Linked DNA regions of Homo sapiens: region 2 is linked to region 1. Evidence: promoter capture Hi-C in 16 types of primary human blood cells and fetal thymus (Javierre and others, 2016). All regions are on one chromosome and are shown on one strand. The core of a region is centred on a gene start or on the middle of the fragment in contact, and the rest is flanking DNA. Distances in the headings are between cores, read along the strand shown. Region 1 holds the start of CHRNA1 (cholinergic receptor nicotinic alpha 1 subunit). Region 2 has its middle 100 kb from the start of ATP5MC3.

Region 1 (5,748 bases), core at 404-2,903:
TCCTTTTGTACCACACTGGTTCCATTTGTATTTGTATGTAGGAAATAGCTCCCTGGGCTGGGCAAAAGAAATTTTGAACTGTTACTAGTCCCATGGATCATTATTATCTTAACCTGATTCTGTATCTCTTGCTACCTTTGGCTAGTTCAGGCTGTGTTTTCTGACTGTGCATGTAATAAACCAAGTCTCCAACTGACCACATTCCAAAATGTATAAATTAAGTGACCTTGGGCAGGTCAGCTTTAGTTTCCTTGTAATAAAAAATTGAGGATGTTGGACTGCCTGATCTAGCTCTAAATTTCTATAAAACACCCATGGAAATCAATGCCAGCAAACTCGAGATTTGACCTAAATACATATCACATACTTCTTTAATAGCTAATCATGCATTTTTGGTTAGCAATAACCAAAATCCTAAGAGATCTCTTAAGGATGTTTACATTAAAGCATATCATTTAAGAATTTTCCTGTGACTGTGGTTTTGCGTGCACGCATGTGTGTGCACGCGCGCGCACACACACACACACACACACACACACATCAGGCCAGCTTTGGCTGGACAGAGTCCAAATCCCACATGATATAATTTATCTGAGTTTAGGCTCTTTCACTCAACTCTGATATTGAAAAAAATTAATAATAAAGCTTTTTGCCTCTTGACCAGAAGGCCTGTGTTTTTCAGAGCAATATTGGAAATGAAAAATCACAGGATGTCAGCCACCTTGTTTCTCAGTTGGGATGATATCACCAGTAAACTTTTATGTGAAGCAATCAGCAAACATCTCCTGTTTCCCTCTAGCGGAAGTCTGGGATTCAGGATGGTGTTTCAGCTGCTGTGTTAGGACACATTCCAGAGTAGAATGCAGGTCAAATGCTGTGCAAGGTTTTATAGTTTCAATTCAAACCCAAACCTATATATAGTAACATCTTAAAAAAAAAAAGTAGGTAGGAATGTATTCATATGGAATTTTTTTTAACTTCAGAAATTTTGAAAAAATTAAAAAATATTTGTCTCTGTGGAGAGAGTTTAGTTATGATTATTAACTGGTTTCTATCTCCAGCACATGTAGCTGTCAATCAGTCCTCTTTATTATTAGAATTCTCCTGGAGCAGTAAAGGGACTTGTTAACTCCATTGTATGTGATTATAAGGCACTGTTCTAAGTATCCATAGTTGTTTAAATATGAACCCCCGGACACTACCATGATCCACAAGTGGTCCAGGTCCTACAAATGGTGCCGAGTGTTCAGAGGGATGAGTCGGCTGCCAGGCATGATGGAGGGAGAGACATGCGTGTCTATCTTGAAGTCTTTGACCAGGCAGTTTCTATTTTAATTAGATAAGGCAAACTAAAAATCTTTATCCAAAAACTCAATCAAGCTAACATCAGGAAGAAACTGACAGAGCAGCCCCTGGTTGGGGAGGCTCTGCCATTCTGTGGTCTCATCAAAGAAGCAAGACTTTGATTTGGGGGCCTCCAGCACTTTAGCCTCAAAGGAGAGCCCTCTCCCCACCCCTGACCCCAGCACTTACCTGAGCAAAGGCTAAAGAGCAGGAGGAGAGGCCAGGGCTCCATGGGCTACCGGAGCTTGTGTGGACCAGGGCAGAGTGGTGGCCTGTGCTTCTCACTGGCACTCTGGCTGGGTGCTTGTCTGCTGGAGGGTTTGGAAAGCGAGTCGGCTCACTAGAGCTATTGTTTTACACCACCTGTTTGTGGGAGCGACAGCTGGGCTGCCCTCAGCCCTGGAGCCCAGGGAGTTACTGGGACTGTACACCATTACAGATATGCCTCACTTTACACAATTGCTTACCCTTGACAAGCTGAGTATGAACTGCATTATATTTTAAATGCACCAGTAGTCAGATCTTAATGAAAAAAAAATGTATAGGAAGGAAGGAATTATTTTAAATGGTGAGCAAACTGCCTCTCTTTTGTGTAAACCAGAACCTCATCTCTGTGGGTTGACTTGATTAGGGTCATTTGGTCTGAGTAGATAGTCAGCTGTTTGTCCTAAACCACAAAAATCCACATTCTGCAAACATGGCTTCAGTTTCATTTCCTCTGCTTCAGTGTTAGGCTGAGGGTGCCGGGGGCTTTTCTGACTGCCTGGATTTCAGAAAAGTGTAGCTGGTGTTGAGTCTGCTGCTGGGAAGCCCCCACGTTGATTGGGTTTGGTTTTTAACAAAGACAGCTTCTTCCATAAAACTGGCTTTACTGGCCCCCAGAGTGGCTGTTCCAACCCCTGCCTCTGTATCAGGCAATACCTATCCCACACGAACCATTAGCTGGAGCAAATTGCCCACGTCCTATGCACTGTGATTCAAGCGAAGAGTAATTATTGGGAAAAAGTGTCCCACCGCATCAGCAGTCGTTCCGGGTTCCTGCCTCCTTCCATCCGTCCCTCTGCCTACTCTCACTCAGGGAAGCAAAGAGCAGAGTGGTTCAGCTTTTCAATTATCTTGCTTGAAAAACATCCTAAAAACCAGCAGTTAGTAATTTCTCAGTCTGAGAAGTATTGTTACCCTAGCTGTGCTTCTTTGCAGGGTGTGAGGTGAGTTCCCAGAAGGAGACAGTTACTTAAAGGTACCCTGCCTGTTCCTTCCAGGCCTCCTTCCCACATGGAACTAGGTGAGAAAGGTCCTCTCACCTCAAGCCCACAACAACATCCTGACAGATCCTCTCATTCCAGTGGATCCAAACAAATCATTAGAGAAGGGGCTTGGAGGGTAGAGGAGAGAGCTGCAAGCTCATACTATTTATATTTTTTGTTTAAACTGTGGGAGATCAGTTAACTGTTTGCTAAAAAAAAATTTGGTTCTCTCCCTTCCATGGAATAGCCCCGTGGCAGAAATACAACCCCCACCCTCTGACCAGCCCCTTCCATCTAAATGGAGCCATGGGACTGACCTCTGGCCAGTGGCATGAGTGGAAAAATGTTCTCAGACTCACAAACCTACCAGAGCTCAGCCCCGCCCTTCTAGTCTTCTGACCGGCTAGAATGGACATGGTCCCAAAGTTAACCTTAGAAACCATGTTCTGAAGGTGGTGTTGCTTTTGACATTCTGAATCCTTGAATGACTGCATGGAGGGGGACCCCCTATCCACCTGCTCACCACCCAGCACTATTTCAATGAAAACAAAACATGCATCGTGCTGAGCCATCAAAATCCTTGGGTTTATTTGTACAGCAGCTAGTGTTCCGTAATTAATAAAATATGTAATCCTTTGCACTAGTATCCTGAGGTTAAAAATAAATTCTAAAATATGTAGCACTGCAGCAGAAGGCAAGAAAATTGATACTGGAGGCTGAAAATATGAAGACCCATGTTATATGGTATCAAATCATTTCATAAACTGTTGTCCTCAATTACTTGGTGAACAATGTGTCTACTGAGCCTGTAGCTCCCAGAATAGAGGCTGGTAAACCCAAAGTTAGTGCACCATGGCTCTTTCTGGCTTTGTTTAGCAAGTCAGTACAAGGAAGAGCTGAGCTCAGGCAAAAATGTGCTGGTTCAAGAGCAGAAATGAAAAGAAATAGAATGAGTCCAGAAATGTGGAGTCTTCTGTTTTGAACTTCAAAAGAGTAAGTGAAAACATGGAATAAAGGCTTTGAGCAACCAAAGCCCGTTAAGACTTCTCTTTAAACAGGCAGTTTCATCACCACAGCAAAGATCACTTTAAGGGTGCTTTCTTCACAGCCAAATCTATTTTTTTTTTCAGATGGCTTCAAGATGGCTGCTATTAAGTTGAAGGAGAGAGGTATAGTGGTTAGGATGCAAAGAAATTAATCAGATTAAAGAATTGTGACCATGTGTGTATATAGGCACATGGGAATGATGGAAACAAATATTGCAGAAGCTTACTCAGTATTTGAAGGAATTATATTGCCAAAGAGTTCATTAACCCAGGCTACAAAAGTTTTGGTTGTTCAAGGCTTAAAGCAGTCCTTGAGTTCCCAAACACACACGGCCAGAAAGCAGGCTCCAAGATCTGCACAGTCTTCCAAAAAGGGTGCTTTCTCCATCCCCTCCTTCAATTGTGGCCGTGAGGGAAAGTGGGCAAGGAAGAACCTCCCCGGGGCATAGCCAGGAACCTCAAACAGCAACGGACAAGGGAGTTCCACCCACAGAGCAGAATCGGGTCGAATCGAGGAATCTGTTGAGACCTTCTCTGTGCCTACCCTGGCTTTCTGCTTACTGCCAATGCCTGCAACCCTGTAACCGAGGGATTTTTTTTTCTTTTTTTTTGGCCATGGGAACACATGAAACAAGCCTGAGATGCTAAAGTGTTACTGCCTCCAGAAACAGGCCTCAACCAATGTTGGAGGATAAATATCCCCGCCCCATCTCCCCTTGGACTGGGTAACCCCCAAGCGTGCCCTACACTCTATGTCTGTGGGAGTGAGTTCCTGTTGCCCATGATGGAAATGGCTCAATAACCCTCCCTTTATTGGCTTCCTCTCCTTCTCTGTCTCTTCTCCCCAATCTGCCACCTCTCAAGTCAACTCAATACAGGGTCAGGGGGACCTCAACTCAAGACAGAATTTCTCCCACTGCCTGGCATGGGGTCTTCACAGTGATATCATTGGAGGCTTTCCCCCTTTATTGCCACAGTTTAAACAAACTGTGATCTCCCACAATTTAAACAAAAAAATCTCTTCTAAAGGTGAACAGTTGAAACCATAGACTAAAAAAAATTACTAAAACTACTATTAATATTATCCTCAGGAGTAAACTGTTTTTTTCATTTAAAAGTTTATTATTCAAGTAATTTGAATTTATTTTAGAGAAATTAGAGAACAGATGAATGAAAAGACCTGCTATCCTTCTACCCAGAATATTTATTTTGATGTTTTAGTTTGTGTCTGTTCAGACCCTGTTTCCATGCATTCCATTCATTCATTCACTAAAAATTTTTTCACTGGGTTTTGCTATGTGCCAAGCAGTGTTCTAGGCATTTGGAATACATCAATAAACACAGCAGACAAAGATTCCTGGTTCTCAGGAAAAATGCATTCTAATTGGAGGAGATGGATGATTAAAAAAATATATATTTTTTACAATTTATTTTTATATATATTACATATGTTATATATTACATAAATAAGATATATATCCTTTTAACAATTTATTTTTATATCATATGTTATATAATATATGGTTATATATTATATATATACATATATGTTTGACTGTATATGTTTACATATATGTTTACATGTATTATATGTTTACATATATTATATATAAACATATATTATATATACATATACATATATTATAAATAAAATATATATAAATGTATATATAAATATATTTATATATTTATATATGAAATACATATATTATATATAAACATACATAATATATAAACATTATATATTATATATAATATACAAACATATACAATAAATTATATATGTAAACATATACAATAAATTATATATGTAAACATATACAATAAATTATACATGTAAACATATATAATATATAAATTGTAAAAAGATGTATATTTTTTATTTATATAAAATATATATTTTTATATATTTTTTCTTATATGTTATATAAATAAGATATATATAATTTATATAAGTAAATTGTTATAACTAATAAGTAAATTGTTTAATGTGTCATCAGGTAAAAATTGCTATAGGAAAAAGAAAAAGCAGAGCAGGATAAAAGGGGACCAGGACAGCTGGAAGGGGATTGCAATTTTAAACACAGCAGGTAGGGTGGGTTTCACTGAGG
Region 2 (5,363 bases), core at 2,284-4,783, 520 kb after region 1:
GTTTGGTAACAATTTATTTCCTGGGGTTTTTGTGAGGATTAAATTAGTTAATATCTGTAAAACAGTTAGAATAGGGCCTGGCATCTGGAAAGCATTATTTTGGTACGACGTACCATTATTTTCCTCTTCTTTCTTCAAGATATGACCCTGATCTCATGAACAAGGTTAAGTGTAACCATTGTTTCCCAATGACTTGAAGCAAAGTTGAGCTGCGAACTTGTTGGTGAAATAGAGCCTTCTTTAGCTGATTTCCAAGCAATGCTCTGATGAGAGCATGTTAACTTTTCTTGAAAGAAAGAAAGTGGCCGGGTGCAGTGGCTCACGCCTATAATCTCAGCACTTTGGGAGGCGGGTGGATCACGAGGTCAGGAGATCGAGACCATCCAGGCTAACACAGTGAAGCCCCGTCTCTACTAAAAATACAAAAAATTAGCCGGGCGTTGTGGCAGGCGCCTGTAGTCCCAGCTACTCGGGAGGCTGAGGCAGGAGAATGGCGTGAACCCGGGAGGCGAAGCTTGTAGTGAGCCAAGATCGCACCACTGCACACCAGCCTGGGTGACAGAAAAAGACTCCGTCTAAAAAAAAAAAAAGCATAGAGGGCACATTCTGTCTGTTATGAGCTATGAATTATAGTGTAGGGGAGAAAAAGGGCTATCTTTCCCTCACTTATCATAAGGCTCATGGCTGAGGCCTCTATAACAAAAGACAGATTAACAAGAGAGAAGCACATAAACATAATTAATATAAGTTTCATGTGACATGAAGGCCTTCAGAAATGAAGACCCAAAGAAACAGGGAAACCTGTGTATTTTTATGCTAAATTTGATGAAGAAGTGGATAGTCGTGCAGAAGTATGATTAGATAAAGGGTGTATGATCTAATGGTAATAAACCGGGGAACTTAGTAAGGCCTGATTGCTCAGATTCTTTTCTGTTTCCCTGTGTCTTCAAAGTCCTTCATAGAGACATTCTTTTCCTCCCTAAGGTATAGGGAGGGTGTCTCTGAAATGACTGTCTTATGACCTACTTTGGAAGATGAGATAATTTGTTGAGGGCCTACTTTAGGGAAGAAGATGAGAGTGACCATCCTGCTTCTACTGTTTTCTCAAATGCCAAGGTGCCATATTTTGAGATTGTGTGTTCTGCACCCCATCAGTGGCCTTTGCTAGGACACTGGATAGGTTGGTTGGCTATAGTTCTCAATTGTTCTTATGCATATGGGAATCCAGGAAACCAAGCTGAGATTAAGGAAAGAAAAGCCCTTAAGAGTGAATCTTTGAGTATTAAATTCTACATGTATCAGCATTCAAAAATGTGAAAGGAGAGCTTGCTAATTATTTCAGCAGTGAAATAAGCAACAGTCAACCTGGTTTATTCATGTAGGTTGGAGTTGACAGTCAAATGAAATCCCAGTGAAAACTCAGGAAAGAAATTCAAGATCAACTTTGTTTTTCTACAAATCAAAAAGACATTAAAAAATGTAACAGTGGTCAGGCATGGTGGCTCACGCCTGTAATCCCTGCACTTTGGGAGACTGAGGCGGGCGGATCACCTGAGATCAGGAGTTCGAGACCAGCCTGGCCAACATGGCAAAACCCCTTCTCTACTAAAAAAGAAAAATTAGCCAGGCGTGGTGGCGTGCGTCTGTAATCCCAGCTACTCGGGAGGCTGAGGCAGGAGAATCGCTTAAACCTGGGAGGTGGAGATTGCAGTGAGCCGAGATGACACCATTGCACTCCAGCCCGGGCAACAGAGTGAGAGTCTGTCTTTAAAAAAAAAAAAGTAACAGTGATACATGTATTCAGCTTGAAGAGACTGATATGAAGGTATGAAAACTTACCAGTCAACTCCTGGGGCTGGTGATGCATAAATTACACAGACCCTTATGAACACAAATTAAAGATAATGTATACAGCATTGAGCTTTTGGAATTCTAAGTAGTTGTTCTCATTATATCTTGTCTGAGCATCAGTGTGATTAAAGCAATTGATTTTTCCTTTATCATTTCATCTTTTTATCCTTCATCAGTAACCTCTTATAATCTTTATTCACTGCTATAAACAAAGACAATGTCTTGACTTCATAAAACCGATACCTTTTTTCCTTGGTTTTATTTTAGAGCTAGTTTTGGCCCATGATGAATTGCTGAATGGTTGATTTCCTGACACTCCTTTTTGCTAACCTTTCTTGACAGCTTCTGGATTGCTCTACCTAGTAATTTGTTCCACAATAATGGCTACTGTGAGATGTCTCCTATTTCCTTTATTTTTAACAAGGATTCTTAACACCCTCTGTAGGTAACAATATGCAATTACAGATATAAAGTGTTCCCCAGGGGATGGCTGCTCACAGATGCCACTAAGAATTTTGTAATGCAACTGTTAAAGATAATGAAAACAAAGAATCAGATTATCCAAACATCCAGTTCAAATCAAATTTTAATTAAAAGTTATGAAGGCATTTTATTGATTAACAATTTTAGTAATTAAAGAGTGTGGTTGACATTTTTTTTTCCAGTTAGATTTGTTCTTCCTTTGAGATTTCTAATTGTTGTATGGTTTTACATTTATTGATAACTCTGTTTGATGAATGCAGATGCCACCTTTTACGGCCATCGTTGACAGAGTAATCATATTGTGAGAAACACCAGGCTTATGTAGTAACAGCTGTTGCAGTTATCCATGCTGACATCCATCGGGGAAATGTGTTTGCTGCTATCATGGGTACACGATAAATGGAAGGTGCAATAAAAGCACAAGCTAACATTTTGAATATCCTTACAACTCTGGGAACTTTATTGCATATTACAAGCACTTTGATCTCTGTCCAGTACTTAAGTCTTAATTATCAGACTAATTGCACAGACTATGTTCATTTTCAGTGGTAATCCTTTTGTGATTAGCTTCTGTGTTCAATAACTGACTTATCTTTTAATTAAAAGGACTGTTAACCTTAAGGCTGCTGCTGTGTCTTGGGATTAACCCATACAGAGTTAATGTTTAATATCATTGTAAAAGCTTTTGCTGAAAGGTGTAGCATAAAAATGTGTAGAGGGAAAGCCATGAAATGTATCTCACTTTTCTGATGTGCAGAAAAGCCCTGCTAAAGATGAGAGTTTTAACAAATCCTCCTTGTAGATTAAATTTCCGAAGGGCCTACCTAACTGTGCGTGGCCACTGGATTAACCCTTTGAACCCTATTCTCATTTACAGAAAGGGAGCACTTAACTTCAGGATAAGGCACAGTTTTTTCTCAATTTTTGAAATCATTATATGTGTACGTGATCAGGGTGCTTAGCTGCTGGGAGTCCAGAATAGAGAATTTCTTTTTCTTTCTTTCTTTCTTTTTATCCCTACAGCTGAAAGTTTTTTGATATTGATTTCTTTGGAAAGGTTCACAGCAGCTTGAAAATAGACATAACAGTGGCACCTTTTTCCATGTTCCAAGCAATGTGTGATCAAAGTGAGTAAAACAGTTCACAGGTAACTAGTGAAACGATTAAGGAGCAGATGCAGGGATAATCAGTACCAAAGTGTGGAGAGCTTGCCAAAAAGCCAGATGCAGCTGCTGAAAACACTCTGTTTCTTCTTCACTTTGGCATCTGGGTTCTACAATGAACATTTTTCCCCAGTGTGCCCAATGACACAGGGTCTATTGCTGTGCCGGTCACTTAGGATGAAGGAGAAAAATGGTTTCTCCACTTCCTCCTTCTCTTGCTCATATCCCTGCCTCCCAGAGGTACAGGCCCTTCATTGATTTCTAACCCCGGATGTCTTCACATGTAAGATGCAGGCCTCTGGGACTAAGGAGCTGCAGGGATGCCTCTATTCTAAAGCTCCTAGGCCAGCAAGTGACCCAGTAGATGCTATTCTGTCTCTGTCCTCTTCCAAATTTTACTTCTTCTATCAGTAATGCAAAAGACTAGCCTGACAAGAATTTTCCTTCAATAGTGCATGTTTTTAAGGAATTTGGTGATAACATGAACTATTTACCAAATAAGCAGTGTATTCTTGCACTCTGTGATGAAGTAGGCAGTGAGAACCTGCCCTCTTGAAGCTTAGAGTCTAGCTAGTAGGATAGTAACTGCTTCCAACACGCTACACTCATTGCTAGGGAGGGTAGCATAGCAAAGGGATTGATCATACCTGAATAGATTGTTTTCTTCCTAGGTTTAGAATTCACTGGCTATTTTGTTCTTAATAATGAATAGGGAGTTTGCATGTGATGAGTAGGGCTTGTATAATTTTATCAATGTTAGTAGGGAGAAAGTCTACCCAGGTGGTTTAGCGCATCAGCTCTGGAGCTAGATACCAATTCAATCCCAGCTCCATCAATTACCAGCTGTGTGACCATGGACAAGTTACTCCTTTATGGAATTTTGGATTCCTCAATTATAGAATGGGGATAATACTAGTGTTGTTGTAAAAAATGAATGAGATGGCATATGTGAACATTTAGCACAATATCTGATGCATAGTGTTTAATAAATGGTGGCTATCACTATCCAAATTTAACTATACCTTGATACAGCAACTGGTAGCTACAAAATGAGTAGAAGTGTATTACATACAATAATTGTGATGATAATACTTGCTTATAATTCTGCCCTACAGATCTCTATTGATCTTGACAGGATTATCATGAAATAGGCTACTTGACTAATGAGGAAACTGAGGCTTGGGGTAGATACGTGGCTCGCTCAGGTTCACATGTTGGAAATGCGGGACTTAGAACTCAAACTAGAGTCTCCAAGCACTTCATTGCTAGAAATTCTGTTAAAAGAAGAGGGAGCCACATGGTTCAGGAGGTTTCATTCTTTTTCAGGTTTTCTTGCTAACTCACAGCCCAATGACTTATCTCCTTTTCTCTCAAGGCATTAAACTTTTCCTAAATAAAGTAACTTAAGTGTATTTATTAATTACATATTGACTATATAAAATCATGGTAATTTATTGTAATTAAAGAATGCATTTATATTTCTAAGGTTCAAAAATCTATCCTGCTGCCAGTATGCATTTCCAAATATATTTCAAAAGAGTTTGCAAATGAATCTGCATTTAGTAGAGAAATTCTAATTATGCATTTAATTCTTACAGCAAATCTACATTAATTATATGAGATTAACTTATATCAATTAAAATTTATCAAAGCTCAAACTGTCTTGGAAGGAAGTGACACATGAAAAATTGTGTTATTTGTAATATTACATGGTTATGTATTATGTTGTTTTAAAAACAGAGCTAGAATGCTATGATCCATATTCTTCTATTGTTAAGGAGCACATGTGAAGGAGTTTTTTAAATAAAAAAAGCTTAGTCCTTTTTATTTAAAAACTTTAATATCCCATTTCATCTAAAACGTTCC

What was found. Contacts are between HindIII fragments. The CHiCAGO score rates a contact against its expected background, and 5 or more counts as called.
Region 2: a fragment that was not itself captured here is called in contact with the fragment with the promoter of CHRNA1 in region 1 in 1 of 17 cell types (M2 macrophages); the score reaches 5.0 in M2 macrophages.

Annotation. Positions count from the first base shown.
Region 1 is chr2:174,762,819-174,768,566 of GRCh38, forward strand. It overlaps CHRNA1 (cholinergic receptor nicotinic alpha 1 subunit), which reads right to left and starts at 1,654. Exons shown (of 9, transcript NM_000079.4): 1 at 1,534-1,654. The coding sequence starts at 1,576. RefSeq lists an enhancer at 1,655-2,154. The HindIII fragment of the contact is 3,214 bases long and covers 644-3,857 here.
Region 2 is chr2:175,280,246-175,285,608 of GRCh38, forward strand. No RefSeq gene overlaps it. Among named protein-coding and RNA genes, the nearest start is that of ATP5MC3, 100 kb to the left of the region's middle. The HindIII fragment of the contact is 1,039 bases long and covers 3,015-4,053 here.